Linked DNA regions of Homo sapiens: regions 2, 3, 4 and 5 are each linked to region 1. Evidence: promoter capture Hi-C in 16 types of primary human blood cells and fetal thymus (Javierre and others, 2016). All regions are on one chromosome and are shown on one strand. The core of a region is centred on a gene start or on the middle of the fragment in contact, and the rest is flanking DNA. Distances in the headings are between cores, read along the strand shown.

What was found. Contacts are between HindIII fragments. The CHiCAGO score rates a contact against its expected background, and 5 or more counts as called.
Region 2: a contact is called between the fragment with the promoter of AGMAT here and the fragment with the promoter of HSPB7 in region 1, in 2 of 17 cell types (erythroblasts and M2 macrophages). The highest score is 7.0, in erythroblasts.
Region 3: a contact is called between a fragment that was not itself captured here and the fragment with the promoter of HSPB7 in region 1, in 1 of 17 cell types (total B cells). The highest score is 5.4, in total B cells.
Region 4: a contact is called between a fragment that was not itself captured here and the fragment with the promoter of HSPB7 in region 1, in 1 of 17 cell types (endothelial precursors). The highest score is 6.1, in endothelial precursors.
Region 5: a fragment that was not itself captured here is called in contact with the fragment with the promoter of HSPB7 in region 1 in 1 of 17 cell types (erythroblasts); the score reaches 5.3 in erythroblasts.

Annotation. Positions count from the first base shown.
Region 1 is chr1:16,015,811-16,021,705 of GRCh38, reverse strand. It overlaps HSPB7 (heat shock protein family B (small) member 7), which reads left to right and starts at 3,663. Exons shown (of 3, transcript NM_014424.5): 1 at 3,663-3,941; 2 at 4,499-4,632. The coding sequence starts at 3,743. RefSeq lists enhancers at 3,370-4,114, 4,115-4,861. The HindIII fragment of the contact is 15,911 bases long and covers 933-5,895 here.
Region 2 is chr1:15,582,314-15,588,208 of GRCh38, reverse strand. It overlaps AGMAT (agmatinase (putative)), which reads left to right and starts at 3,158. Exons shown (of 7, transcript NM_024758.5): 1 at 3,158-3,513; 2 at 4,814-5,016. The coding sequence starts at 3,242. RefSeq lists a silencer at 3,176-3,505 and an enhancer at 3,616-3,665. The HindIII fragment of the contact is 7,120 bases long and covers 1-5,895 here.
Region 3 is chr1:15,628,676-15,634,570 of GRCh38, reverse strand. It overlaps DDI2 (DDI proteasomal shuttling factor 2), which reads right to left. Exons shown (of 10, transcript NM_032341.5): 3 at 4,010-4,246; 4 at 1,006-1,132. Among named protein-coding and RNA genes, the nearest start is that of DDI2, 14 kb to the right of the region's middle. The HindIII fragment of the contact is 2,751 bases long and covers 1,256-4,006 here.
Region 4 is chr1:16,356,485-16,362,379 of GRCh38, reverse strand. No RefSeq gene overlaps it. Among named protein-coding and RNA genes, the nearest start is that of FBXO42, 7.0 kb to the right of the region's middle. RefSeq lists a silencer at 1,701-1,917. The HindIII fragment of the contact is 7,817 bases long and covers 1-5,895 here.
Region 5 is chr1:15,719,058-15,724,952 of GRCh38, reverse strand. PLEKHM2 (pleckstrin homology and RUN domain containing M2) reads right to left here. Exons shown (of 20, transcript NM_015164.4): 6 at 5,033-5,219; 7 at 3,565-3,624. Among named protein-coding and RNA genes, the nearest start is that of SLC25A34, 14 kb to the left of the region's middle. RefSeq lists a silencer at 149-425. The HindIII fragment of the contact is 477 bases long and covers 3,033-3,509 here.

The DNA.
Region 1 (5,895 bases), core at 2,414-4,913:
ATCTGCCAAGGCTGAGACTCAGGGTCCAGGGGTCTCAGAGCTGGACATGGAAGGTTTGAAAAAGCACAGAGGGAGAGGGGAGGAGGCTGGGAAGGGAAGGAGAAGGCAGGGGGGCAATGGTGAGTGGGGCCAGCATGACCACAGCCTCCCTGTGTGTCAGGTAGAGAGTCAGCCTTCTCCCAGATTAATTACCCTGAGTGCCCACGGAAATCCCACGAGGCAGGCAGCGTGATCCCGTTGTAGAGAAATGGTGTCTCAGGGAGCTGGGGCTGCCTGTCTAAGATCACGGAGGCCGAGGCAGAGCCAGGATTCCCAGCCCAGGTTTGCCTGGCTCCAAAGCCCGCAGGCTGTGCCACACGGTCCCATCCTGATGACCCATCTTGTCCAGGGCTGGCGAGGAGGCCGACACCTGGGGCAAGGCAGTGAATTGGGGTCAGGAACTCGGACTTGATCCTGTGTCCAGACCCTCCAGGCTCAGGAAATGCTTCTCAAAGCACACGTCCAAGGGCCAGCGGCTCTGGTGGGGACTTCTGGGTAATTCCACAGAGTTTGTCCCACCCCAACAGAGGATGGCAGCACAGGTGTGAGGGGACATGGCGAGGAACAAGCACCTGCCGTGTGCCTGCGACGTGTCAGGAGCGTCACATCTGCAGCTCAAGTCCTCCTTCCCACACCCTGTGAATGGGGAGAGCCTCGCCATTTTGTAGATGGTCAGAGAGGTGAGTCACTCATCCAAGGTCACACAGCAGAGGCTGAACCCAGCCCCACACTGTGCAGCTCTTCCCCTGCCCAAAGCTCCTCCAGCTCCTGAGGCTGAACCAGGGCAATGGTTTGGGCACAGAACAGAAGAGTTGTGTCTGATGCCACTTTTGGGCAAGAGGTTGGGGACAATTGCCTCCACTCCCACCCAGACAAAGCCACCCTCTGAAGCTTATGATAGCCCTTGGATGATTGTTAAAATCTGGGACCCTGGGCCACCCTTTGCCCCTAGATGCCAGGCAAGTCAAATCAAAATCAAAGATGTGTGTTGTGGGAGGTGGGATGGGAGTTGCCGCTCTGTATGGACTCGAGCCCACCTTCACCTTGGCCACCCCGACCTGTTGACTCTGCACAGCACCAGAACTGGCTGCCCTGTCAACATCCCGATTTCCAGTGTCTGGTCTGGGGCAGCTGCTGGCTACTGTCCCACAGCCAGCACTGCACGTCCACATCTACCCTCACCCCCCAGCCCTGTGTGCACCAGGAGGCTGAGAAGAGGGCAGCCAGGGTGGCTCAGCAGGATGACCGGTTTGAAGCCAGCACAGCTCTGCTGACCCTAACTCTTTCATCAACTAGAGCCTCAGTTTCCTCTTCTGTATGATGAGGTGAGCCTGGAAGCAGGGGCCTGTCTCTGCCTTATTCATCTCTGAGTCCTTCAGAGCCTAGAACAGTGCCCAGCACCTATTTATAGCAAGGTTTCAATGAATACCTACTGAGTGATGAGGGCTTCATCACTGGCCTATGAGCTGGCTGTGTGGGGAGCTGATGGGAAGAGATGTGAGGTCCCTTCCCCAGATCCCAAATCAAAATCCTGGGGTCCAAGGAAAGGGTCTGTGTTTGTGAAAAGCTCTCCTGGGTGACTGGGATTCAAAGGACTGCATCATCTTTGTAGCTCCTTCTGTCTCTGTGATCTGAAGGTAGAGGCAGGGGAATGTCCTTGATGACCTTTTGAGGTCCCTCTGGGTCAGTGAAGCCAGAGGATCCAGTATTTGTGTGGGTGATGCCTCGGGAAGGGGGAAAAAGGGGAGGAGGAATGGTGGGCGGGGGTGGGTAACGGGATCTGACATCCAGGGGCAGTGACTCAGGCCCTCAGCACCATGACAGTGTGTCTGCATTTAGCCACCGGCTCCTGTTTCCCTGGCGAGCGGCAGGCTCTGGGCCCCCCACCCCGCCCCACCCTCTCTCCATCTCACCTCAGTGCTGGTGGCTTCCCAGCTGCCCTAGAAACCCCTCAGCCAGGCTGGGTGTCACAGGCCCCGACACGGGCAGGAAACTCTGCCAGAGGCAACAGGCCCTGTTGCTCCAGGCAACAGCCTGGCCCGCCGCTGTGCCCTGTGCCCTGCTCTGCTTCCACTCCACATACCACCAGCACCGCTAATACCCCTGTAGAAGGAGCTCTCCAGGATGAAGCTCCAGACTGGGTTGTAGGGGGCTCAGACAAAAGAGAAACTGCCCGTCTTCAAGAACCTTCAATCTAATGGGGAGACAGGTGAACCCTCGCCCCCGTGGGAACTGCCAGTTGGATAGGGAAGAAGGGACACAGCAGAGAGTCACAGCACACAGGAAGACTATGTCACACTGCCAGGTGCTGTGGGAGGACAAAGACAGTCAGTGCTGGGGGCATCTGGACTGGGTGTGGGCCCATGTGAGCAGGAGCAGTCAGAGAGGCCTCCCTGGGGGAGGAGGCATTGGAGCTGATCTGGGACGGAAGGGACGGATTTGGAGAGGACAGCAGAGGCCCTTAACTGCAACCTGGGCAGAGCAGAGGGCCTGGCCGCCTCTCAGAATGGCCTCCACCCTGGCCCAGGGCAAGGTCAGTCCCAGCTTTGCTGAGCAAGCAGGTGGGTAGGGAGGGGCTTCTCTGGCTCTTCCGGGCCAGCCTGTCTCCATAGGCACATGTTCAAACCACCTCGGCCTCTGAAGGGCTTTGGGTCCAACACATCTAGGTTCGAATCCCAGCTCTGCCACTTACGCAACTGCGAGCCCCGCCCTTTCCAAGAGGCTTCGCTTCCCCGTCCGTAACATGGGAAGAGCCCCTCCACCCTCCCAGCTGTGTGGGGATCAAACGGGGCCGTGCTGGACAGCTTGCAGCCAGGAGCCCATGCCCAGAAGGCATTCTAGAACTCAGGGCTAGAATAATTGTCTTCCGGAATTCTCTTTTACCTCTGACTGAAATCCCACCTAAGGCGCTCGCAGGCATCACCTCTGACACAGAGATGGAGCAGACAGTTGCCGGGAACACAACCTTCTAGACCTTTAAGGAGAAAGCTGCCAACTTTGTCCTCTTGGGGCTGCTGAATGTTCTGAGAGTCAGAGGGAGTGCAGGCACAGAATCCAGGTCCCCATGGGGGCTGGCAGGGGACAGCTGCACATTTTACACCCCCTGGCAGGGCTCAACCTTTCCTTAGAGATGGGCTGTGAAGGTTGTCTGCCTTGAGGGAAGGAGCTCCTGACGTCACAGAGCGGTGGTGCTTCCACCTACCCTGTCCCCAAGGAGCCTGCACACTGATGGAGGAGGTACAGCCGTGGAGGAGAACCAGAGTCTGGAGGGGAGGCACAGTCCTCAGGAGCCCCCAGGCTGACGGGGGAAACAAAACACACAATAAACCCCAAACTTGCAAGGTTCTGGGGCAGGCACCGAGGTCCGAGTGGCAAGGAGACAGGATCCAGCCCTGTGCAGTGGTGAGGAGGCCCCTGGGGCTGCTGTGATCAGCCTGGAATGTCAGGCTGTGAGCTCAGCCCTCTCGGCCTGCGTGTCGGGCTGTCAGCAGGGCCGGCGCACGGGAGAAGATTTCCAGCCCCCTCTGGGCCATGGAGAGGCCTAAATTTAGCTAGTAGACAAGGGGCTGGCCCCAAGCCCAGGGACAGTCGGCCTTATAAAGCGGCCGCAGTCGGAGCCTGGCACGCTCGCCCAGAGGCCTGCGCCCACACCCTCTCCTGTCCAGCCCTCGCCCGCCTGGGCAGGGCCCGGCGCCGTCCGTGGATGAGCCACAGAACCTCTTCCACCTTCCGAGCGGAGAGAAGTTTCCATTCCTCTTCCTCTTCCTCCTCCTCTTCCACCTCCTCCTCGGCCTCCCGTGCTCTCCCGGCCCAGGACCCGCCCATGGAGAAGGCCCTGAGCATGTTTTCCGATGACTTTGGCAGCTTCATGCGGCCCCACTCGGAGCCCCTGGCCTTCCCAGGCAAGTGATCCGGGCCCTGAGGGGAGGGGAGGTGCACAGGGAGGGGACGTCTGCTCCAGGGCGCCACCGAAGGCGCTGTGGCTGCCGGTCGGCCTGGAACAGGTGCTGCACAGCCTGCAGCCATGTGTGGCCACCAAGACAGATGTGGCCACAGGGACAGATGTGGCCATGAAAACAGGTGGGCCTCTAAGGAACAGTTGTGGCCCTGGGGGTTGGACATGGTTCCATGGCCACCCATGCTCTGTAACCACAGCCAATCCCAGCTGGAGCCCTGGAGGGCTGGATGGGTGAGCGGTGGGGGGCAGCCCCCAGGCTCCAGGCCTGGGGTGGGGTTGTTACAGACCTAGCCTCATATACACACACACTGTGCTGGGTGAGGCCCCACCCCCACCCCAGAAAAGGTGGGCTGTAGGAATGAGGAGGAGCTTAGGGAGAAACAGCTAGGGGGGAGGTAGGGCCTGGGGGAGCCGCCCCTTGCCCCAAGAGAAGGAGCCAGAACCCCCGGATCTGCATGCAAGGCCTGCTCCATGCCTCGCTCACAGCAGCCCATCCCACAGCCCGCCCCGGTGGGGCAGGCAACATCAAGACCCTAGGAGACGCCTATGAGTTTGCGGTGGACGTGAGAGACTTCTCACCTGAAGACATCATTGTCACCACCTCCAACAACCACATCGAGGTGCGGGCTGAGAAGGTGAGCCCCCCACCCCCTACTCACCGCATCCCAAATTCTGCTCCTGCCTCCAATGTCTCCTACTCCCCCTTACCATCCTGGGACCCCAGACCCTGGCCAGTGTCCCTTCCCCACCCAAACTCCCCCAGGGCTAACTGAAGGCCTTGTCCCTGCAACCCATGGCCATGGGGCCCCCTCACTGCCTCTCTTTGCACCGAGGTTCCCAGATCCTTTCTTCCAGGGCCTGAGCAGCTGAGGGAGCCTCCGAGGAATGGGAGAGGGATGGAGGGATGTGGGCAGAGGGAGCCTGAGGGGGTGGGGCTTGAGGGTGGGAGATGACAGGTGTGAGATGGTGATGGCAGAGTGAGGACAGCTCCTCTGGTAGCTATAGGGGGGCGGATGCGGGTAGGTGGGGAACTCACCTGGGCAGTGGGGGGAGGGGTTTCTCCATGTGACCCACCTCAAGCCCTCTTCCCTCCCACAGCTGGAGACCCATCCCCCATCTTGGGACCCCTAAATTAGGCCCGAGGCTGGGCAGGGGCCCTGCAGTTTCGGGTCACACACACTCCAAACCACACACAGCGCCCGCCCACAGGTCTCAGGGTCACTGGGTCTCTAGCGTGTCTGAGTCCGAACTTCTAGGAGGCACTGGGGCCTCCACCCTGGAGAGGGTATGGCCAGGCCTGAACAGGGGCGTTGCCCAGGGACAGCCACGGCTGCCAGGAGAGAGGAGAGGACCTGACCCAAGCCTCCTCCTAAGCCCCCAAGGACTGGCTTCTTCCCCTCCACATTCAAGGGTGGATTTCTGGGCGTCCCTGCCAGGGATGCCATGGACTGGGGGCACCAAAACCCACAGGCAGCATGTGCCAGCCCTGCCACCCCCAACAGTGACTCAGCCGCCCCAAACTCCCCTGGACACTATGTGCTGGCTGAGTTGCGGGGGAGGGGCCGGCGCTCAGCCCTGGCGGGCAGATGCCCAATGTGCCCGGGGATCCAGGAAGGCACGGCTCTCCTCTGTCACCTCCACGTTCCCCAGGAGCCCCAGATTCGGAGCCACTGCCACGGAGCCTCCTCTCTCTCCAAGCCCCACCTCTTCCCCATGTCCCTGGCCTGTTCCTTGGAGCTACTGGAGCTCTGCGAAGCACCCCTGCGCTGTCCCTGCAGAGCCTTTGGCCTGTGGCCATCACCACCCTGGGCAGCCCCTCGGCACCTGAGGGCAGAGCCCCTCGGCATGTGGGGTCTGGCTGGGGTTAGAATGGGGAGAAGAGGGCTCTGGCTTGTCAC
Region 2 (5,895 bases), core at 1,909-4,408, 430 kb after region 1:
GCGCCGCCTTTAAGAGCTGTAACACTGCAAAGGTCTGCAGCTTCACTCCTGAAGTCAGCGTAGACCACGAACCTAGCAGAAGGAAGAAACTTCGGACACATCTGAACATCTGAAGGAACAAACTCCGGACACACTATCTTTAAGAACTGTAACACCGCGAGGGTCTGTGGCTTCATTCTTGAAGTCAGCGAGACAAAGAACCCACCAATTCGATACACTGGGACCACAGGTGTGCACCACCAGTCTTGGCTAACTTTTGTATTCTTTGTAGAGACAGGATTTCCCCATGTTGGCCAGGCTGGTCTCAAGCTCCTGGACTCAAGCCATGTGCCTGCCTTGGTCTCACAAAGTGCTAGGATTACGGGCATGAGGCACCGCACCCAGTGAGACCCTATTTCTACAAAAAATACAAAAATTAGCTGGGCATAGTTGTGTGCACCTGTAGTCCTAGCTACTTGGGAGGCTGAGGCAGAAGGATTGCTCAAGCCCAGGGGGTGGAGGCTGCAGTGAGCTATGACTGTACCACAGCACCACAGCCTTCATGACAGAGCGAGACTTCTATCTCCCTTAAAAAAAAAAAAAGTTCAGGGTCTTTTGAGGGTGGGCTTCTACTGAACATTGGACATGTGGAGCTGAGGGCTGGGGTGGAGCACTGCAGGCAGACAGAAAAGCATGAACAAAGGAAAGGAGGCAAGAAAGTGGGGGCTGAGGCAGCTGACCATGGGCTGGAGGAACAAGCCCGTGGAGCTGCAGAAGGGGAAACACAGGAAGAATTGGCTCCAGGAAGCATTACCGGGCAGGCATATGTATGGTGATACTAGTGAGAGTGAGATCAGCTGGAAAGCTGGGGTGGGAAGGCCTGGACCAGAGTAACAGCAGAGGAAATGAGCAGAAGGCTTGGGGGCAGGAAACCATCAGGACTTCTTAAATTTGGGGGCGTAGAGCAGGATCAGAGACAGGGAGGTGGAAAGTCGCTGGCTGAACTTGCAGCCCACCCCAGGTGCTGTCAAGCATCCAGGTCAGGGTTAGAAATTGGTCGCCTGGAGCTCAGGGCTGGGATTTGGGCTTGTGGTTGACCTGCCTATGGGTGAAAGTCATCACCTCCGTATTAAAAGGGATTGCCAGCCGAGAAGGAGCCACGAAGGTGGAAGGAGACCAGGGGAGTCCCAGTCAAGAGGCCGCCTGAGGAACGTTTCAAGGAGAGAGGGTGCTCAGCAGTAGTGGATGTTGGGGACACCTCATTGGAACGCCTGGCACATAGCGGACACTCAATATTTGTGAGCTGAATGAAAGAAAAACCCGGAGTAAGAACATGATACATTCAGGACAAGCAACATGAAAGAAATAGCAGTTGAATTTGGGAGTCAAGAGAATAACTGAGACCCTTTAAGTGGCATAAGGGAGAAAAAAAGGAAAAAATAACTGAGAGATTGTTGCATTTGTTCCAGAAAATGGCTGGGACCTGCCCCAAGGCCAACACTAAGCACTGATAATTGACCATTAGGAAACTCTGTCCCGACCTGCAGAGTGGAGGCTCCACTCCAGAGTGGAGGCTGGAGTGGTGTGGGGTTTAATGTGCAACCTTTTTTTTTTTTTTTGACAGAGTCTTGCTGTGTTGCCCAGGCTGGAGTGCAGTGGCGCGATCTTGGCTCACTGCAAACTCCACCCTCCCGGGTTCACGTCATTCTCCCGCCTCAGGCTCCCGAGTAGCTGGTACTACAGGTGCCCACCACCACGCCTGGCTAATTTTTTGTATTTTTAGTAGAGATGGGGTTTCACCATGTTAGCCAAGATGGTCTCATCTCCTGACCTCATGATCCGCCCACCTCGGCCTCCCAAAGTGCTGGGATTACAGGTGTGAGCCACCGCGCCTGGCCTAATGTGCAACCTTTGTGTAGAGGTTGCAACGTAAATGCAAATGTGAGCCTTTTCCATTCAATCTCAACATTTAGAGATCAGAAAAAATAATATATATAATACTGCTAAATGGCTCACATAATTCCATTACAAATCACTTCTTTCTTTCCACGTGTGTTTTTCTTTCCCCTTAGAAATAAAGAGGATGTAACAGGTTCTCTGGCACTGTGACCTTCCTTACAGCTTGCCTGTAAGTCCTTTATTTATTTATTTATTTATTTATTTATTTATTTATTTATTTTTGAGACGGAGTCTTGCTCTGTTGCCCAGGCTGGAGTGCAGTGGCCTGATCTCAGCTCACTGCAAGCTCCGCCTCCCGGGTTCATGCCATTCTCCTGCCTCAGCCTCCCAAGTAGCTGGGACTACAGGCACCTGCCACCATGCCCGGCTAAATTTTTGTACTTTTAGTAGAGATGGGGTTTCACCGTGTTAGCCAGGATGGTCTCGATCTCCTGACCTCGTGATCCGCCCGCCTCAGCCTCCCAAAGTGCTGGGATTACAGGCGTGAGCCACCGCCCCTGGCCTCTAGTCCTTTTTTAACAAGGTTATTTAAAAAGACTTTACTGGCCAGGCGCGATGGCTCACGCTTGTAGTCCCAACTACTCGGGAGGCTGAGGTGAGACGATTGCTTGAGCCCAGCAGTTTGAGGCTGCAGTGAGCTATGATTGTGCCACTGCACTCCAGCCTGAGCAACACAGCAAGACCCTGTCTCAAAATAACTAGCTAGCTAGCTAAGTAGCTAACTAACTTTACTGCTTCTTGAGATTCCTATCCCTGGACATTTAAAAATACATTATTTAAAAAAATGCATTTCCTATTTTTCTGGCTTAGAGAAAGATCATTTTCCTTCATATCTTTCTGGCTTTAAAAATATTACTCTGGGGTGGCTGCTGTGGCTCACACCTGTAATCCCAGCACTTTGGGAGGCCAAGGTGGGAGAATCACTTGAGTCCAGAAGTTGGAGACCAGTCTGGGCAACACAGTGAGACCGTCTCTATAAAAACAAACAATTACTCTGAATGGGAGAAGAGGCTGCTGAAGGCCACAGTGGGGAGCAGGGCGCAGACACCCCTGGCACAGTGCCGGCCAGTGGGCACCCCCAGCCTGACTCTATTTGCCAGAGGCTGAAGTCCAGAGGGGTTGAGGGGAGAGCACGGCAGGTCCTGGGGCCCCTCCCCCGCCTTGATCCTAGGGCGCCCCTGACCTTTGAGCCGGCTCGGGTTCCGGCTCTGGCGCGTGCACACTCGCCTCGCCGTTCGGGACCAGCCAGATCGCGGCGGCCTCGCGGGCGGTTTGGTCGGTGAGGTCTTGGCCGCGCGCGGCAATGCTGAGGCTGCTGGCGTCCGGGTGCGCCCGGGGCCCGGGGCCCGGCGTGGGCGCGCGTCCTGCCGCAGGGCTCTTTCATCCGGGGCGCCGCCAGAGCCGCCAGGCTTCCGACGCGCCCCGGAACCAGCCCCCCAGCCCCGAGTTCGTGGCCCGGCCGGTGGGCGTCTGCTCCATGATGCGCCTGCCGGTGCAGACCTCCCCCGAGGGGCTGGACGCTGCCTTCATCGGGGTGCCCCTGGATACTGGGACCTCCAACCGGCCTGGGGCGAGGTAAGGCCGGAAGGACGGGGGCCGGGTACACGTGGAGGGACTGCTTGCTGGCTGTCGGGCATGGAAAGCACCGAGACAGGCGCCCCTGCTGGCCCCGGGTCGAGTTGGAAGCTGGTGGCCGGCTCCAAAATGCCCCTTATGGTTTGAGATGGTTGATTTACCTGGACCCTCAATAAGCAAACCCCAGGGCTCAACATGGGCGTGGCCTCCCACATCTTAGTGTCATCATTGGTCAAGAAGGGATTTTGGCCGGCCCGGTGGCTCATGCCTGTAATCCCAGCACTTTGGGAGGCTGAGGCGGGCGGATCACGAGGTCAGGAGTTCGAGACCATCCTGACCAACATGGTGAAACTCTGTCTCTACAAAGGTACAAAAAAAAGAAAAAAAAAGCCGGGCATGGTGGCGCGGGCCTGTAATCCCAGCTACTCGGGAGGCTGAGGCAGGAGAATCGCTTGAACCCGGGAGACGGAGGTTGCAGTGAGCTGAGATTGCGCCACTGCGCTCCAGCCTGGGCAACAGAGTGAGACTCCGTCTCAAAAAAAGAAAAAAGAAGGGATTCTGGAGCCTGAACCTTCTCTGTGTCCCCATCCTGGGGCCTTGCTGGGATGGCTGCTGTGGATTCCTCCCCTCTCCTCTCCCCAGCTTACAGTGGCAGGTGACATTGCATTTGAGAGCAGAAACTGGCTGCCCCTTCCCCAAATCTGAAGATGTCACCTGACTCAAGAAATGCTCAAATGAAGGCAATTTTCCTAGGATCAAGTCGGAGGAAGCAAAATTCATCTTCCTAGTTATTGAACGTCAGCAATTTCTGATTCAGCTCAGCAACACTATATCTGACCGTACTGATCTGAATTATGAAAGCCAGCACTTATTAAATGTCTCCTAAGTGCAAGGTGCTTTGCATAGATTACCTCATTTAATTTTTACTACAGTGCAAGGTAAATATTTTACAAATTAGGAAACTGAGACTCAGGTAGATCATGAAATTCACTAATGCCATTTAGTACACTTATTTAGTCTCTTCGATACATAGCCTAGATCGGTGATTCTCAAGTGGGGCGGTTTTGCACTCCGGGGACATTTGGCAGTATCTGGAGGCGTTTTGGGTTGTTACACCTTGGAGGAAGGGTGCTACTGGCACCTAGTGAGTACAGGCCGGGATGCTGCTAAGCATTCCATTATGCAATGCCGCGACACGGAATCATCTGGCCCCAAATTGCTGAGGCTGAGAAGCCCTGGCCTAAGCAAAGCCTGAAATCTCTGCAGATGATGGCTGACAGGATGATTCTTCCTTCTGCAGATTCGGACCTCGCCGCATCCGGGAAGAATCAGTGATGCTTGGGACAGTCAATCCTAGCACGGGGGCCCTCCCCTTCCAGTCCCTCATGGTTGCAGACCTAGGCGATGTGAATGTCAATCTTTACAACCTTCAGGACAGCTGCCGGCGAATTCAAGAGGCCTATGAGAAAATTGTAGCAGCTGGCTGTATTCCTCTGACCTTGGGTAATGTCAGTCTGCAAGAGCCAGAGTAGTTCCCTGCACTCAGGGTTTACTTATCCTGTACTCAGGGGCTTGAGTACAGCTACTTCTCCCCTGCAAGCCACTGCAAATGTGCAGACAGTAGGAAAGAGAGCATTGTAATTCATTTATTTTAATCCCTGGGGAGAGAATATTTCACGTGTGTGTGTATGTGTGTGTGTGAGACAGTCTCACTCTGTTACCCAGACTGGAGTGCAGTGGTGCAATCTCGGCACATTGCAACCTCCACTTCCTGGGTTCAAGCAATTCTCCTGCCTCAGCCTCCCAAGTAGCTGGGATTACAGGCGCCCACCACCATGCCTGGCTAATTTTTGTATTTTTGGTAGAGTCGGGGTTTTGCCATGTTGGCCAGGCTGGTCTTGAACTCCTGACCTCAAGTGATCCGCCCACCTTGGCCTCCCAAAGTGCTGGGGTTACAGGCATGAGCCACCGCGCCTGGCCAAGATGATGTTTCTAATGACTTTATTTGCGAGGAGAACTGCAAAGAGGGTGTTTTTGTCCTGCTCAGGGTCTACATCAACCTATAGGGCAGCTTTCCCCTTATCCTCACCCCTGACCCACTCTCACTTTTTCTCTTGTTCACAAATACTTAAAATGACAGGGATCTTTTCCTAAATATCCAAATTCATTTTTGCCAAGTTAGAGAGCCTAGCCTGCATGGCATAGTGGGAGGAGTGTGGTTTCCCGATGGCATGGTTTGAAGTCTCAGCTGCACTTCTCCCTAGCAATGTTGCTGTATACCGTGCTTGATGCTTCACACCCTCACCTGTAAGATGGGAATGATCACAGTAACACCTACTCACTGCATGATGTGAGGGGCATATAATGAAAGTGCACATGAAA
Region 3 (5,895 bases), core at 1,382-3,881, 390 kb after region 1:
ACAGAGTGAGACCTTGTCTCAAAAAAAAAAAGATAAAAAGAATAAGAAGTTTAAAAAAGCATGATTTAATTTCTAAGTTGATAGATAGTGTAATACAATGACCAAGTTAGGCTTCATTTAAGTAACCGGAATGATGACACGGTCCCTAAAAGGCCAAGCAGTCTAAGTGTAGTAAGTATCGTTGCTGTTATCTTCTTCTTAGTTATACTAAGTTCTTCACAATTAGCAACAAAAACTGACTTGAGGCAGGAAAAGCAGCTGTCCTTTTTTTCAGAGAATGACTGAACAGAATCTTGCTTGTGACTATCAGTGTGACTGAGGCCGGAACAGCGTCACTGTCCTTGCTTGAGCTCCATGCCCGACAATTCTGATTCATCAGATTTGGGAGAAGAGTCCAAGCATCTGCATTTTTAAAAGTTTCTCATGTGATTTTACTATAGCCCCAGGTGAGAACCACCGCATTACAGAAACTGAGAGCTGGAAACATGTCCAGCATTCAGTTTATCCACTGAGGCCAGTACAAGAAATGCAGCAGGAAAACAGACTTAGGACTACCAACGTTCCATCGGCGCAGAGCCCTCTCTAATCCAATCATGTTTAAGCCCTGGATTTAATCAGGACTTATACAATATGTCTAAAGAAAGAGAGTCAAATCAGCCCATGTAATATGCAACCAGCCTTGTGGTCTCACCAGATGGTGGCTTCTGCTCAGTCCGGGGGTCATTTATCTAAAGCTGTGTTATGATGCTCTGTCTGCTAGTCAGGGAGTCCTCCTTAAAATTTTAGAAAGAAAGTCATTAAACTAAGCACCTATATCTTTGTCATGTCAAATCGAAATGCATAGAAAATGAAAGAGGAGAGACTAACCTAAAAGACTGAGGTTACTATCTCAACTGCAAAACAGAGAAGCTACCTCCAAGCAGATGCCCAACCAATGTCAGATAACCTGCAGTCTGGGAAATCTGGAGTCTCTAAGTTTTGTTCTTTAGATGAACAGGTCTTTACCTTATATCTTCTTCTATCTTTGCCTGAGCTTCAAGGTCAAAGGGATCAGCAGAAAACAGACGAATCCTTTCTTGCTCTCTCCGGGCTCGGTCCTGCTGCTGCTCCACCAGGACTCTAGAAAATTTCTCTACAAAAATAAGGGAGAAAAATCTTAAATATCACTATATTTTCAACGTTTATCAGTACTTTTCCACACCAAACAATTTATCAAACTACATCTGTAAGAGATGCAGAGAGGATGCCTAAAGCTTATTTAAAATGAGCAATTACATTTACTTTCTGTTCTCTGAGTCAAGGCTATTTCATCATTTAAATTCAGTGTAAAGAAAGTATTTGTGGCTGGGTGTGGTAGCTCATGCCTATAATCTCGACACTTTGGGAGGCTGAGGTGGGAGGACCGTTTGAGCCTAGGAGTTCGAGACCAGCCTGGGCAACATAGCAAGACCTTGTCTCTACAAAAAATATAAAAATTAGTTGGGCGTGGTGGTGCATGCCTGTAGTCCCAGCTACTGTTGGATGGGGGTTCAAGGGTGGGGGGATGGCCTGAGCCCAGGAGGTCGAGGATGCAGTGAGCTGTGATCGCACCACACACTCCAGCCTGGGTGACATGGTGAGACCCTGTTTTTTTTTTTTTAAAAAAAAAAAAAAAAAAAGTATTTGCAAAAATTTTTTATAAGAAGTTATCTATCATATTGTTTCTACTCAGAGGTAACAACTTTCCAATTTAAAATGGTGGGGAGTGACCATGTGGCAGATCAATGTCTCCACTCCTCCATTCCTCATTGTTCTCATTATCCTACTACCTAGAAACAAAATACAGCATTATATAATCTCCTTTTCCTCTTCTAGTTTCATTTCTTTTATAACATGCCCTGCCTTAAGCCAGATACATTAAGTATAAACTATTTTTAGTCTACCTATATTTTGTGTGTGTTCTGATGAATTAATAGGCAGGAAAATTAGTAGAGAAAACACTGCTTGCTATAAGATGTATGTTACAACAAGAACCTATTTTGCAATTTCTTTTTTTTTGAGATGGAGTTTCGCTCTTGTTGCCCAGGCTGGGGAGCAATGGCGCAATCTTGGCTCACTACAACCTCCACCTCCCAGGTTCAAGTGATTCTCCTGCCTCAGCCTCCCAAGTAGCTGGGATTACAGGTACCTGCCACCACGTCCAGCTAATTTTTGTATTATTAGTAGAGACTGGGTTTCACCATGTTGGCCAGGCTGGTCTTGAACTCCTGACCTCAGGTGATCCACCGTGCCCGGCCTATTTTGCAATTTCTTAAATGGTGGTACATTTAAGTGTGCAAACTTAAATGCCCCATCATCACCATCTTTGGTGATTAGATATGCTGATATAAGAGATTAAAAGATATTATGACAATGGTTATCTGAACTACTAATGCACACAATACAGATGGATCTAAAAAGCATTAAGTTGAGTGAAAAGCCTAACACGAGCTGGGAGTGGTGGCTCACGCCTGTAATCTCAGTACTTTGGGAAGCCGAGACGGGTGGATCACGAGGTCAGGAGTTTGAGACCAGCCTGGCCAACATGGTGAAACCCAATCTCTACTAATAATACAAAAATTAGCCGGGTGTGGTGGTGCACGCCTGTAGTCCCAGCTACTTGGGACACTGAGGCGGGAGAATCGCTTGAACCCAGGAGGCGAAGGTTGCAGTGAGCAGAGATCGCGCCACTGCACTCCAGCCTGGGAGACAGAGTGAAACTCCGTCTCAAGAAAAAAAAAAACAAAGCCTAACACGAAAGAGCAGACACTCTATTATTCCATATACATGAAGTTTAAAAATACGGGAAACTAAACCATAAGATTATCAAAACAGTAGTAACCTATAAGGAGAGGAGATTGACTAGAAAGCAACACAGTGGAACTTTCTGGAGTGAGAGAAATGTCCTGTGTCTTGATTGGGGTTACAGGAGTTTGTCAAAACTCAAGGAATTGTATATTTAAAATCTGAGTACTTCGCTTAAGGTAAAGATTGCCAATTTAAAGACAGTCAATTGAGGAATGAGTCATTAAGTGTCTGTTATGTTTTTAGACTTAACCCAATTTAACTCATAAACCCAAGAGTAAAATGAGAGTAATTTACAGAGAAAACTCGATTCATAAAGATGGCTACAAGTTAGCTGGGTGCAACTGCTCATGCCTGTAATCCCAGCACTTTGGGAGGCCAAGGCAGGCAGACTGCTTGAGCCCAAGAATTCGAAAGCAGCCTGGACAACATGGCAAAACTCCATCTCTACAAAAAATACAAAAAATAACTTGGAGTGGACTGAGGTTATGGTGATTCCATTTTGCCATACAGGGCACTGAACCTTCCTGGCATCAGCTGGCATCAGCTGGCTTGTTGATGATCTCTTTAATTGAAGATCTAACTAAGGTTAAAATATCGGTACTGGCTGGGCATGGTGGCTCACACCTGTAATCCCAGCACTTTGGGAGGCCGAGGCAGGCGGATCACGAGGTCAGGAGATCGAGACCATCCTGGCTAACACGGTGAAACCCCGTCTCTAATAAAAATACAAAAAATTAGCCAGGTGTGGCAGCATGCGCCTGTAGTCCCAGCTACTTGGGAGGCTGAGGCAGGAGAATGGCATGAACCCGGGAGGCGGAGCTGGCAGTGAGCCAAGATTGCACCACTACACTCCAGCCTGGGCGAAAGAGCAAGACTCCGTCTCAAAGAAAAAACAAAGAAACAAACAAAAATCAGTACCTAGGTTATCTGCTGCCAAAAACAATGAGGAAAACAAAAAGTAAACCAAGGGGGGTGGCCTAGATGGATTTCACTGCTAAAACTCTATTGCTGTTTCCAAGTAACTCAGCCTTTGACTTTAGCACTAATTTACCTCTCACAGAGAAAAAACTGGTATGTTCAATAAATCATGTGACACAGTGTCGCTTGAGTCTCTTCACATTTGCTATGACACAGCTTCTTCACCTCAGGCCAGCCTAATAGCCTTCCAAATTTATAAGCTTACCAAGGTCTCCACTGAGCAGAGCTTCTGCCAGGGGTGGATTGCGTTCCTTCAGCAAGGACAGCTCATGCGGGTTGGCCAGCAACATATCTCGGAGCAAGGCTGGATTGTCCAAGCCCTGAGGAGATGAAGTTATTTCTCCAGGAGATGAGTGGGACTGCTGTGTTCCTGGTGGCTGGCGCTGCCGGGGACTTGATGTGCCAGGCACAGCTATACTACTGAAATCTATTCGGGGTAAGTCTGTTGGGGAAAATCAATTCAGTTTACTCAAATTACTCTACAAAAACAAGCACTTGAAGGAAACAGCAGAACACTTGCTCATACATGGTATATGACAGCAGCAAAGGTAACTGTAGACTTTAACCTTGTTCTTTCTCATGATGACTCTGAATATAAAGACTGCCGGCTGAGAGTGAATCGATAGAAGAAGAAAAATAGGGGGAAGGTGATGGTAGTAACTCCAAATTTTTAGCTTATAAAATATCTCACAATAGACATCAGGTTTTTAATTTATGTTTTTAAATCATTAAAGTGGCCAGGCGTGGTGGCTCACACCTGTAATCCCAGCACTTTGGGAGGTCAAGGTGGCTGGATCACCTGAGGTCAGAAGTTCAAGACCAGCCTGGTCAACATAGTGAAACTCTGTCTCTACTAAATATACAAAAATTAGCTGGGCGTGGTCGCAGTCACCTGTAATCCCAGCTACGCAGGAGGCTGAGGCAGAAGAATCACCTGAACCCGGGAGGTGGAGGTTGCAGTGAGCCGAGATGGCGCCATTGCACTCCAGCCCAGGCAACAAGAGCGAAACTTCATCTCAAAAGAAAAAAAAAAAAAAAAATTAAAGCTAGTTTCAATAAATATAATTGCATAAGTCTGGATGTTGTTCTTGAGAAAAATCCTACTCTGGTCTGACATATGGTTCAAACAGCCTTGACGCTTGGATTAAAGAATTTTTTTTTTTTTTTTTTGACACGGAGTCTTGCCTTGTTGCCCAGATTGGAGTGCAATGGCACGATCTTGCCTCACTGCAACCTCTGCCTCCTGGGTTCAAGTGATTCTCCTGCCTCAGCCTCCCGAGTAGCTGGGATTACAGGCGTGTGCCACTACGCCCAGCTAATTTTTTGTATTTTTAGTAGAGATGGGATTTCACCATGTTGGCCAGGCTGGTCTCGAAATCCTGACCTCAGGTGATCCACCCACCTCAGCCTCCCAAAGTGCTGGGATTATAAGTGTGAGCCACTGTGCCCGGCCGGATCAAAGGATATTATATATGTCAAGTGAGCAGCATAAATATTAGATGCTAAATTCTGCAAGTCAGTGCTAAACGTATTGGCTCAGGGAAGTTCTTAATAGTTCTCTGAATTTATACTTTAATCTGTGCATCTCTGCTAACTCTTCTCATGCCCTTGGGGAGCTAAACAGTGTCATCATTTTATAGAAAAGAAAGAAGAAAAGGGACTTGCATAGGTTCTCAGTGCTGAATACACCAAAAGCTACCACAGTTTAGAAGCTACAACTCCCAGGTTCTATATGCCAGGTGGAACTGACCTTACTAAAATGAAAGGAAGATAAAAGGGAATTTTAATCCTTACACAACGGACTCACATATTGTATGACCCCATTTATATGAAATGTTCCAAATAGGTAAATACATAGAGACAGAAAGTAGACTTGTAGTTGTCTAGGCTGCGGAGACTAGGGGGAAATGGGAAATGACTATAAATGGGTATAGGATTTCTTTTTAAGGTAATGAAAATACGCTAAAATGGATTGTGGTGATGGTTACACAACTCATGAATATAGTAAAAAAAAATCATTTAAATGCATGAATTCTATCTCAATAAAACTGTTATTTAAAAAAGAAAAATGAAAAAGAGAAAAGTAAACAA
Region 4 (5,895 bases), core at 1,468-3,967, 340 kb before region 1:
CCTGCCACCAAGCCTGGCTAATTTTTGTATTTTTAGTAGAGACCGGGTATCACCATGCTGGCCAGGCTGGTCTCAAATTCCTAACCTCAGGTGATCCACCCGCCTCGGCCTCCCGAAGTGCTGGGATTACAGGTTTGAGCCACCGTGCCCAGCCCGGTGTATTGTATTATTAGTGGAGACAGTTTCTCCATCTTGGCCAGGCTGGTCTCAAACTCCTGACCTCAGGTGACTTTTTTTTTTCCTGAGACAGAGAGTCCACTTTTTTTTTTTTTTTTTTTTTGAGACGGTGTCTTGTCTTGCTCTGTTGCCCACGCTGGAGTGCAATGGCGTGATCTCAGCTCACTGCAACCTCTGCCTCCCAGGTTCAAGCAATTCTTCTGCCTCAGCCTCCTGAGTAGCTGGGACTACAGGCACGTGCCACCACGCCTGGCTAATTTTTGTATTTTTAGTAAAGACGGGATTTCACCATATTGGCCAGGCTGGTCTCAAAGTCCTGACCTTGTGATCTGCCCGCGTCAGCCTCCCAAAGTGCTAGGATTACAGCCATGAGCCACTGCGCCCAGCTTTTTTTTTTTTTTTTTTTTTTTTGACAAATTTTCGCTCTTGTTGCCCAGGTTGGAGTGCAATGGCATGATCTCAGCTCACCACAACCTCCGCCTCGCGGGTTCAAGCGATTCTCCTGCCTCAGCCTCCCGAGTAGCTGGGATTACAGGCATGCGCCACCATACCCGGCTAATTTTGTATTTTTAGTAGAAATGGAGTTTCTCCATGTTGGTCAGGCTGGTCTCGAACTCCCGACCTCAGGTGATCTGCCCGCCTCGGCCTCCCAAAGTGCTGGGATTACAGGCGTGAGCCACCTCGCCCGGCCGAGATAACTTTCTATCTGACGCACAAGCTGAAGCTAGGTAGATAGTTGTGATGAGTAAATGGCAACTTACCAATATTGAAAATGTGCAGGCTGGGCATGGTGGCTCACACCTGTAATCCCGGCACTTTGGGAGGCCAAGGCAGGTGGATCACCTGAGGTCAAGAGTTCGAGACCAGCCTGGCCAACATGGTGAAATCCCACCCCTACTAAAAATACAAAAATTAGGTCTGGTGCAGTGGCTCATGTCTGTAATCCCAGCACTTTGGAAGGCTGAGGCAGGCAGATCATGAGGTCAGGAGTTCAAGATCAGCCTGGCCAGCATGGTGAAACCTCATCTCTACTAAAAATACAAAAAGTTAGCCGGGCATGGTGATGCGCACCTGTAATCCCAGCTACTCAGGAGGCTGAGGCAGGAGAACTGCTTGAACCTGGCAGGTGGAGGTTGCAGTGAGCCAAGATAAAGCCACTGCGCTAGCCTGGGTAACAGACTCCATCTCAAAAAATAAAAATAAAAAAAATAAAAAATAAAAAAATAAAAATAAGGCCGGGCACGGTGGCTCATGCCTGTAATCCCAGCACTTTGGGAGGCCAAGGCGGGTGGATTGCCTGAGGCCAGGAGTTGGTGACCAGCCTGGCCAACATAGTGAAACCCTATCTCTACTAAAAATACATAAAATTAGCTGGGCGTGGCAGCAGGCGCCTGTAACCCCAGCTACTCGGGAGGCTGGGGCAGGAGAATTGCTTGAACCCTGGAGATGGAGGTTGCAGTGAGCCAAGATCGCTCCATTGCACTCCAGCCTGGGCAACAAGAGCGAAACACCATCTCAAAAATAAATAAATAAATAAAAATAAAAATACAAAAATTAGCTGGGCGTGGTGGCACGCACCTGTAATCCCAGGTACACAGGAGGCCGAGGCAGGAGAATCGCATAAAGCCTGGAGACAGAGGTTGCAGTGAGCCGAGATCATGCCACTGAACTCCAGCCCGGGTGATAGAGCCAGACTCAGTCTCAAAACAAACAAACAAACAAACAAAAAGAAAATGTGCATACCTAAGGATATCCATTGCTATTTTGTCTATAATCAAAAAAGACTGGAAACAAATTAAATGTTCATCGCTAGAGAATTTGTTTTAAAAGACTATGGTACATTCCTATAAAAGAATAGAATGCAACTGTTAATAACATTTATATTGTCCTAAATGCACTGATACTGAGTGATCTCACATGAGAACTAAAAATAAAATCCTAAACCTTCCAACGGACTAAATGGACACCCTTTTGGTACAGGGGACCCCAGAGAAGCCATGATGGAACAGGAAGTCAGACACACTTGGTTATACCCTATCCCTTTCACAGTTTAGACACAACAATTGACCAGCATTAATGCTAAAATAGAGATCATAAGACTGACACAACAAATGCTTTGTGGTAATAAGATGCTTTTTTTTTTTTTTTTTTGAGACACAGTCTCTCTCTGTTGCCCAGGCTGGAGTGCAGTGGCTCGATCTCGGCTCACTGCAACCTCCACTTCCCAGGTTCAAGAGATGCTCCTGCCTCAGCCTCCTGAGTAGTTGGGATTACAGGCTGGCAACACCACGCCCGGCTAATTTTTGTATTTTGAGTAGAGATGGGGTTTCACCATGTTGGCCATGCTGGTCTCAAACTCCTGAGCTAGTGATCCTCCTGCCTCAACCTCCCAAAATGCTGGGATTACAGACGTGAGCCACCGCGTGCGACCAAGATGCCAATTATAAACAGGACATAAGGTCATACCAAGCAAGGGTTAAGTCATGCACCCCAACCCTTTAAGAATAAACTATGTTCTGGCCAGGTGTGGTGGCTCATGCCTTTAATCCCACCACTCTGGGAGGCCGAGGCAGGCAGATCACCTGATGTCAAGAGTTCGAGACCAGCCTGGCCAACGCCGTGAAACCCTGTCTCTACTAAAAATACAAAAATTAGCCAGGCGTGGTGGCGCATACCTGTAAATCCCAGCTACTTGGAGGCTGAGGTAGGAGAATGGCCGGAACCTGGGAGGCTGAGGTTGCAGTGAGCCGAGATCATGCCACTGCACTCCAGCCTGAAAGACAGAGCGAGACTCTGTCTCAAAAAAACAATAAATTGGGCCGGGCGTGGTGGCTCATGTCTGTAATCCTAGCACTTTGGGAGGCTGAGGCGGGCGGATCACGAGGTCAGGAGATCGAGACCATCCTGGCTAACATGGTGAAACCCCATCTCTACTCAAAATACAAAAACAGCCAGTCGTGGTGGCACGCACCTGTAGTCCCTCAGGAGGCTGAGGCAGGAGAATGGCATGAACCCAGGAGGTGGAGCTTGCAGTGAGCCGAGATTGTGCCACTGCACTCCAGCCTGGGCGACAGAGGGAGACTCCATCTCAAAAAAAAAAAGAAAACAAAAGAATAAATTATGTTCTGGGCTGTACACAGTGGCTCACACCTGTAATCCCAGCACAATTTCAGCACCTTGGGAGGCCAAGGCAAGGTGGGCGGATCACCTGAGGTCAGGAGTTCAAGACCAGCCTGGCCAACATGGAGAAATCCTGTCTCTACTAAAAATACAGTAATTGGCTGGGCGCAGTGGCTCACGCCTGTAATCCCAGCACTTTGGGAGGCTGAGGCGGGTGGATCACCTGAGGTCAGAAGTTGGAGATCAGCCTGACCAACGTGGTGAAACCCTGTCTCTACTAAAGACACAAAACATTAGCTGGGCATGGTGATGCGTGCCTGTAACCCCAGCTACTTGGGAGGCTAAGGCAGTAGAATCGCTTGAACCCAGGAGGCAGAGGTTGCAGTGAGCCGAGATTGTGCCATTGCACTCCAGCCTGGCTGATAGGGCAAGACTCTGTCTCAGATAAATAAATAAATAAATAAATAAATAAATAAATAAATAAATAAAATAAAAAACCAAAAAATACAAAAAATTAGCTGGGCGTGGTGGCACACACCTGTAATCCCAGCTACTTGGGAGGCTGAGGCAGGAGAATCGCTTGAACCCGGGAGGGGGAGGTTGCAGTGAGCCGAGATCACGCCATAGCACTCCAGCATGGCGACAGAGCAAGACTCTGTCTTGAGAAAAACAAAACAAAACATATAGATAGAAAAGGTACGGTAAAAATATGGTATTATAATCTTATGTGACCACCATTGTACATGTGGTTTGCCATTGACCACTGTTATGTGGTGCGTGACTGTGATTGATTATTGGGACAGACTCTGGAGGAAAGTACCTTATTTAAACGTATTAGAGAGACTCCAACCACCCCTTTCATTCTAGCCTTATCCCCTGTCTTTAATCATGTCCCAATCAGCCTTCACACTGCAGAGAGACTATTCTGAAAAACCATTTTAATTATAGAGTATAACCTCCCCGTTCCCAGTTCTTCATGACCTATAATGTAATCTCCAGTCTTCCCCCGATATTCCAGCCACTATGTAGCTCAGTTTCGTCATCTTTAAAATAGGCACAATAATGACGCCTACTTAGCAGAGTTCGGTACATAATAAATGTAAACAATAAATAGCAATTGTGATTATTATTAGAGTTTAATACTTTTGTCCTTATCACAATTTATACTTCTATCTTGTCTACAGTCTTTGTGTATTGGTTATCTCTCTCAGTAGATAGTAGGGCCCTCCACAAGGGCAGAGACCTTATGTTTCATTAAAAAATATATATGACCATGGCCGGGCACAGTGGCTCATGCCTGTAATCCCAGCACTTTGAGAGGCCGAAGTGGGTGGATCACCTGAGGTCAGGAGTTCAAGACCAGCCAGGGCAACATGGCAAAACCCCATCTCTACTAAAAATACAAAAATTAGCTGGGTATGGTGGCACGCACCAGTAATTCCAGCTACGCAAGAGGCTGAGGCACGAGAATCACTTGAACCCAGGAAGCGGAGGTTGCAGTGAGCAGAGATTGTGCCACTGCACTCTAGCCTAGGCAACAGAAGCAAGACTCTGCCTCAAAAAAAAAAAAAAAAAAATTATGGCCAGGTGCAGTGGCTCATGCCTGTAATCCCAGCACTTTGGGAGGCCAAGGTGGGTGGATCATGAGGTCAGGAGATCGAGACCATCCTGGCTAACACGGTTAAACCATGTCTCTACTAAAAATACAAAAAATTAGCTGGGCGTGGTGGCAGGCACCTGTAGTCCCAGCTACTCGGGAGGCTGAGGCAGGAGAATGGCGTGAACCCCAGAGGCGGAGCTTGCAGTGAGCCGAGATCATGCCACTGCACTCCAGCCTGGGAGACACAGTGAGACTCCGTCTCAAAAAAAAAAAATTTGTATATATTTATAAATATATATATTAATATTGTATATATATATGACCATACGTATCACATGGTCTGGCACATAGTAGGTGCTCACTAAATATTTGTTTCCCAAATGCCCTCTTAGTTGCCAAATTCCAAGTTCATTCATTCAACAAATATTTAGTGAGTCCCTACTATGTGCATCTCTATGTCAGGTGCTGGTGGAAAACAGACAAAAATCCCTGCTGTCCTTGAGTAAGAAGATTCAGGGTGAAGTGATTCTGTATTTGAACGTATTCTAACATGGTCCAGCAGTTCCAACCCTGACTGCTCAACAGAATCCCTGAGGAGCTTTCAGAAAAGTCTGAGGCCATTGTTTGAGGTGGGCCCTGGAACCTGCATTTTAATTTATTTTTGTAGAGATGGGGTCTTGCTATCTCGCTCAGGTTGATCTCAACTCCTGGCCTCAAGTCAGCCTCCCATGTCAGCCACTGAAAGGGTTGGGATTACCAGCGTGCAACACTGCAACTGGCCATGGAACCTGCATTTTTACTTTTACTTATTTTTTTTTTTTTGGAGACAGAGTCTCACTCTGTCACCCACGCTGGAGTGCAGTGGCATGATCTCAGCTCACTGCAACCTCCACCTTCCAGTTTCAAGTGATTCTTGTGCCTCAGCCTCCCGAGTAGCTGGGATTACAGGCACATGCCACCATTCCTGGCTAATTTTTGTATTTTTAGTAGAGACGGGG
Region 5 (5,895 bases), core at 2,022-4,521, 300 kb after region 1:
AGCCAGGCTGCACGCCTCTTAGGTTACCCTCAGAGCCTTCCTGCCAGGACGCTACAGGGGTACCCAGCAGCCCCGTTAGCCCCATACCCCACTTGTAGGGCTGAGAGGTGCCCAAAGTCCTCTGAAGGGTCCCTTGCAGAGGTAAAAGGAACACAAAGGGAGAAGAATGGAGGAAGACAGCAGAGAAAGTGAGGGGTGCAGAGTGGGGGCAGAGGCTAGGAGACAGGATGGGAGCCCAAGGGGTGGGAACCATGGGGCAGAGGGAAATGCCCAGAGCACAGAGTAGAGACAAGATGACAGAGCAGGGCAATGAGAGCAAGGTGCGAAGGGGCAAAGACAGGGGTCCGAGAGGCCGCCCCCCAGGCTGCTTCTCCCCAGCACCCCTGACCCTACACACTCCTCGGGGGCAGGACCAGGTGCCCCTGCAAGGGTGGTGCTGAGAACTCCATTTCTTTCTTTTTTTTTTTTTTTGAGACGGAGTCTCTCTCTGTCGCCAGGCTGAAGCGCAGTGGCGCGAGCCCGGCTCACTACAACCTCCAACTCCCGGGTTCAAGTGATTCTCCTGCCTTAGCCTCCCGAGTAGCTAGGATTACAGGCATGCGCCACCATGCCCAGCTAATTTTTGTATTTTTAGTAGAGCTGGGGTTTCACCATGTTGGCCAGGATGGTCTCGATCTCCTGACCTCGTGATCTGCCCGCCTCGGCCTCCCAAAATGCTGGGATTACAGGCGTGAGCCACCGTGCCCGGCCGAGAACTCCATTTCATTCAAGTGTCAGCTCACTGACTGGTCCTTTCTGACTCATACCCTGACACGGCCCCCGAGAGGGGAGCTGGCTTGGACATCCCGCCCCACCCAGCCATCTGCCCCTGGTTACTGGAACAGGGCAGGAGAGGGAGCACGGGCAGGTGAAGCACACAGCCCATACGGCCAGTGGCAGATGGGAGCCACCCAAGCAGAGAGCTGAGGCCCAGCTGGTGAAACTGCCTGGGTGAGGGTCAATGGCAAGGGCCATGGCTGGTCGTGCTCTATTTGCCGGCCAATGCTCATCTTGCTGGCCGCTGTCTGCCCGGAAGAAAAGAGGCAAACATGCACCCCACAGCCCCACTGGGGGCCCAACCAGCTGTCAACTTAGTGCCCTTGGAAGCCACAGGGCAGCTGTCTGCTGATGCAGCACACCGTCCTTTTTTTTTTTTTTTTTTTTTTTTTGAGACAGGGTCTCGCTGTGTCGCTCGGACTGGAGCGCAGTGGCGCAATCACAGCTCACTGTAGCCTCGACCTCCTGGGTTCAAGTGATCCTCCTGCCCTGCCTCAGCCCACAGAGTAGCTGGGACTATAGGCGTGCACCACCAAGCCTGGCTAATTTTTATATTTTTAGTAGAGACGGGGTCCCCCTGTGTTGCCCAGGTTGGTCTCAAACTCCTGGGCTCAGGCGATCCTCCAGCCTCAGCCTCTCAAAGTGCTGGGATTACAGGTGTGAGCCTGGCCCTTTTTTTTTTTTTTTAAGTCTGCTGTCTTTTAATATAAGGACAAAAGAGGAGGCTAAAGGCAATGAGTAGCTCTGCCAGAAAAGACCAGCAACATCGGGGACTTTTTCCAGATTTCCGGGGATCTCAGAGCCTAAGTTCTAAGATACAGAAAACCGCGTCTCTCGGTCCCAAAGCAGGCTCCTGCCAAGCCCATGTGTTCTTGCTCCGGCTCCTGTGATTCTCCTCAGCACACGCAGTTGCACCCAAGAGGAGCCCTGAGAGGTGAGTGGGCAGATCATGAGATGTGGTGGGTGTCAAGGCCCGCATGCCCACCAGCTCTGTAAATAAGCCAAAGACCAGGGGAAGGCCACCCCAGGCTCAGAGTTTGGAGCTGCCCCAAGTCCTGCCTTCCTCCAGGTCCAAGGAGAAGACAGAGCCTCCCCGGGTGAGCTGCCAGAGTGAGCTCAGGAATCCTGCTCCAGGAACTCCAGAAATCTCACCCTGCCCTGAGGCAAGCAGTGCAACTGGGCTGTTAGTTCTCAGGCCGCAGGGAGCTCTGAAAGGCTGTAGAGGAAGGTCAGGCCCTGCTTGTCAAGTGACTGCAGCAGGCGTGTCAGGAGGGGGGTTAGTTGTTAGAATCGGAGGGAAAAAAAAACAATATCCAGCATGTGTGCTGCAAGAAGAGGGGCTAAGAGGGTACATGATGTTATGATGGAATTCTGGAATCCAAGCTAATTTAACTCAAACAGGGGACCCTTCAATGCTACTCTTGGCCAAGTGTCATAGTTTATTTTTCCCAATGCCACATCTTATTTCTCACAGAGTTAAGGTATTTCATACTCACATTATCTGGGAACGGATCACCTGTCACCCATTACTCAGCAATCACGTCTCTAATAATGCGGGGAGAGCCACGTGCCCCTCATCCTCAGGGTGTGGCAGTTCTCACCTCCCCTGTTCAGAGGCCAGGTTCCCTCACCTCCCCTGTTCCAGGCTGGAAGTGGCCCAGAGGGTAGGAGGCTCTTTAATAACAGGGATTTGGACCAGGTGCAGTGGTTCATGCCTGTAATCCCACACTTTGAGAGGATGAGGTGGGGTGGATCACCTGAGGTCAGGAGTTTGAGACCAGCCTGGCCAACATGGTGAAACCCTGTCTCTACTAAAAATACAAAAATTAGCCGGGCGTGGTGGCACACACCTGTAATCCCAGCTACTTGGGAGGCTGAGGCAGGAGAATTGCTTGAACCCGGGAGGTGGAGGTTACAGTAAGCCAAGATCACACCACTGCACTCCAGCCTGAGCAACAGAGCGAGACTCCGTCTCAAAAAGTAAAATAAAATAACATAAAGTAAAATAACAGGGATCTGCTATGGCCTCAGATTTAAGGGGGAAACATTCACCTTATTGGCAACATAGCCTTTGCTTTGAGTAATCGTGGCAACCTGGGAATAGCTTTGTGAATTTATGAAGTGGAATTTCAGGCAGAAAAATGCCCAGGCACTGCTACTGCCCAGCAGACAGGGTGGGAGGGCTGGCAGATTTCCTTTTAATCTGCTTTAAAGCTTCAAAGAGATTCTGTCTGTAGGAAGTTTCAGCTGTACCTGGGCAGTTTCCTGACTTGGACCTCAACCACTCCAAAACACCCAAGAGGAAGCCATTAGGAACAGACTGAAAGAATCAAGCTCTTTCTCTTCGATGCTCATCTGACCCGCAGGAGCTTACAACCCGCATGTTTAAAGGCATGGTTTTCCAGAACAAGTCTTGGTTCACTGGGTCAGGCCCTACACACCCCGAGAGCATCAGCTGGCACTGGAATCAGGAAGGGTGACCCTGTATCCCCCGAAATGCAGCCACTTAGTGACTCCGAAAGGCCACTGAGCAAAGGCAGGAGCCCTGCACTGGGAGAAGGGATTTGCCTATGGCTAGAGGTTGAGTTTTCCCACTGCAGAATTCCATCTATTAGAACACCAAACTTGGCTTTATTATGATTATGGATATTATTATAAATAATAAGGAGCTGATTTGATACATGCAGCAAGCTTGGCATGGAAACATTGCAAAACAGGAAAAGAGGGTAACAGCGGACTCTGGCCCACCTTCCCAGTCTGTGCTGGGTACAGACGGCACTGCTGGAAACACATCTCCAAAATCATAATCTACAAAAACGAGGGACAAAACTGAAGATTAGAAACACAGGCAGTGGAAGGATGACTGGAGGGAGGGGAGGGGAAATGGGGTGGGAGACATGGGGAGAAAATAGGAGAGGAAAACTTCAACTTTCTACATTGTATCCAACAACCTTGGGGAAACTTACTAGGGCCCTGACTGCCTCTCAGCTCAGGCGCTGGCCCAGGAGCCTCCAACCAGCTGGAAAGACCTGTCAGGGTGACCCCTTTCCACATCCAGAAGCTGGTTCTGGCAGAGAGAAGCCTGGCTGCCTGTGCCTAGCTTTGTTTTCTACCTCTTACGTGCCTTCCCTCCATACCCTAGCAGGGCAAGGAGACACTGCCCTGGCAGCTGCAGTTGCACAATCTCCAAATTGCTGAGGGGACACCTCCATCCATGGATCCATCCTTGCCCTGGCTCTTCCGGCAAGGCCCACCCCTCCAACTCCTCTAAGGTGGCCCATGGGCCCAACCTAAGGAGACTGTGCCGCCTTCTTCAGCTTGCACGGTCAGCAATGCAGGTCTTGCTAACAGCAAGTTTGAGAGGGACCTCCCTTCCTGGGACATATAACCCGTGGTACAGCAGAAATAAAGAAAGGGGAAGGTCAAGGTCTCAATGCTGAGGCAATTCTAGGGTGCCCCAGGGCTAAATTGGGGCTGGGATCCCCTTCCCTGGAGGTGAGGTGGTGGGGTGAAGTAAATGAAGGGCTCTGGTCTCCTACAGGAGATAAAGAGGGGAAAATGGCCAGTTTTATCCATGAACACCAGGGCCTAAGGTTTGAAAGAAACCAGGCTGTTCCAGTAAATCATTGGGTCAAGACAACAAAATGACCTGCAGCTTCTTCCTCGGTCCCTGATGCAAAGGGTGCGACCATCCCAAACACATCAGCGAGCGCAGAAGGAACTCAGAGAAATCGGACGGACACACAGGACACAGTGGCAAGGTTTCCCTGCGCTTCAGACCTGCCTGGTTCTCTCTTCTTCTAGGGGTTGCTTAACCTCCTTCTGCAAAGAATGTGGGGTCAGACAAGCTCCCCAGAACAGGCAACACTCAACCCTGCGACAAGGTTTCCAGGTCCCACTGCTAAACCTTCCTTGCTTAGAAAACTGCCACAGGCATGTGACTAGAACCTTCTGGAAAAGGGTCTAACCTTAAAAAATATATATTTTATATATATATATATATATATAATTTCAGCTTTTTGTGCCCAGAATCCACTTTTTAGCCACCACAGGGACTCTGAGGAGATGAAGATCTGGGAAATGGCCAGCCCTGTTTAATTGCAAATTTCAGCCACCAGACCAAAACTAGCCAAGGAAGACATCACCCAGCCAGGCTTAAGCAGTTCAAGTCTGTTTCACAACAGGGGCTTAGCTTTTCTGCCCTGGGGCCACTCACCCTCACTAGATGGGGCAATCGCACTGTCATCCCACTCCAGGTTGGTGGAGGTGACGGAGTTGAAAGAGTTGAGGGACAGACTGTCTGAGCCGTGGACCGAGCTGGGAAGGCGGTCTTCAAAGTCCAGCAGGTACTGAGGTTTGTAGTAGTCGGGCATGTAGGGGGCCAGGTCTAGGTAAGGGGCATCCTGAGGAGAGAGTAGAGGAGGCCCGTTTGGTGGGAGGCCTCGTGCAGCGGCCTTCTGCAGACAGCAGGATCCAGGCCTGGGAGACACAGATGTGCCTCTTTGGGAAATCAATGGCTTAAGGTAGTAAATTCAAAGAAAAGCTGCTAAGAAGAGCAATGTGAATAGTGTTGGCTTTTAAAGCTGTGGACTTCAGGCTGATGGAAGACAGAGCTGTCAGAACTCAGCTACACCCTTTGATGCCCCCGCTATCTCTCTCTCTCTCTATTTATTTATTTTTTTTTTTGAGACAGAGTCTCACTCTGTTGCCCTGGCTGGAGTGCAATGACGTGGCTCGGCTCACTGCAACTTCCACCTCCCGGGTTCGAGCGATTCTCCTGCCTCAGCCTCCCAAGTAGCTGAGATTATAGGCGCCCATCACCACACCCCGCTAACTTTTGTATTTTTTTAGTAGAGACGAGGTTTCGCCATGTTGGCCAGGCTGGTCTCGAACTCCTGACCTCAGGTGATCCACCCACCTCAGCCTCCCAAAGTGCTGGGATTATAGGTGTGAGCCACTGCGCCTGGCCCAAGGAAGGTCATTTGATTAGGACGGGGCAGCTGCATCCATTTTGAGCCCAGTCCAAGAGGTGCCTGGGAGCCTCTTTGGCTCTATGTGGGCCAGCATCCCATTTGTACA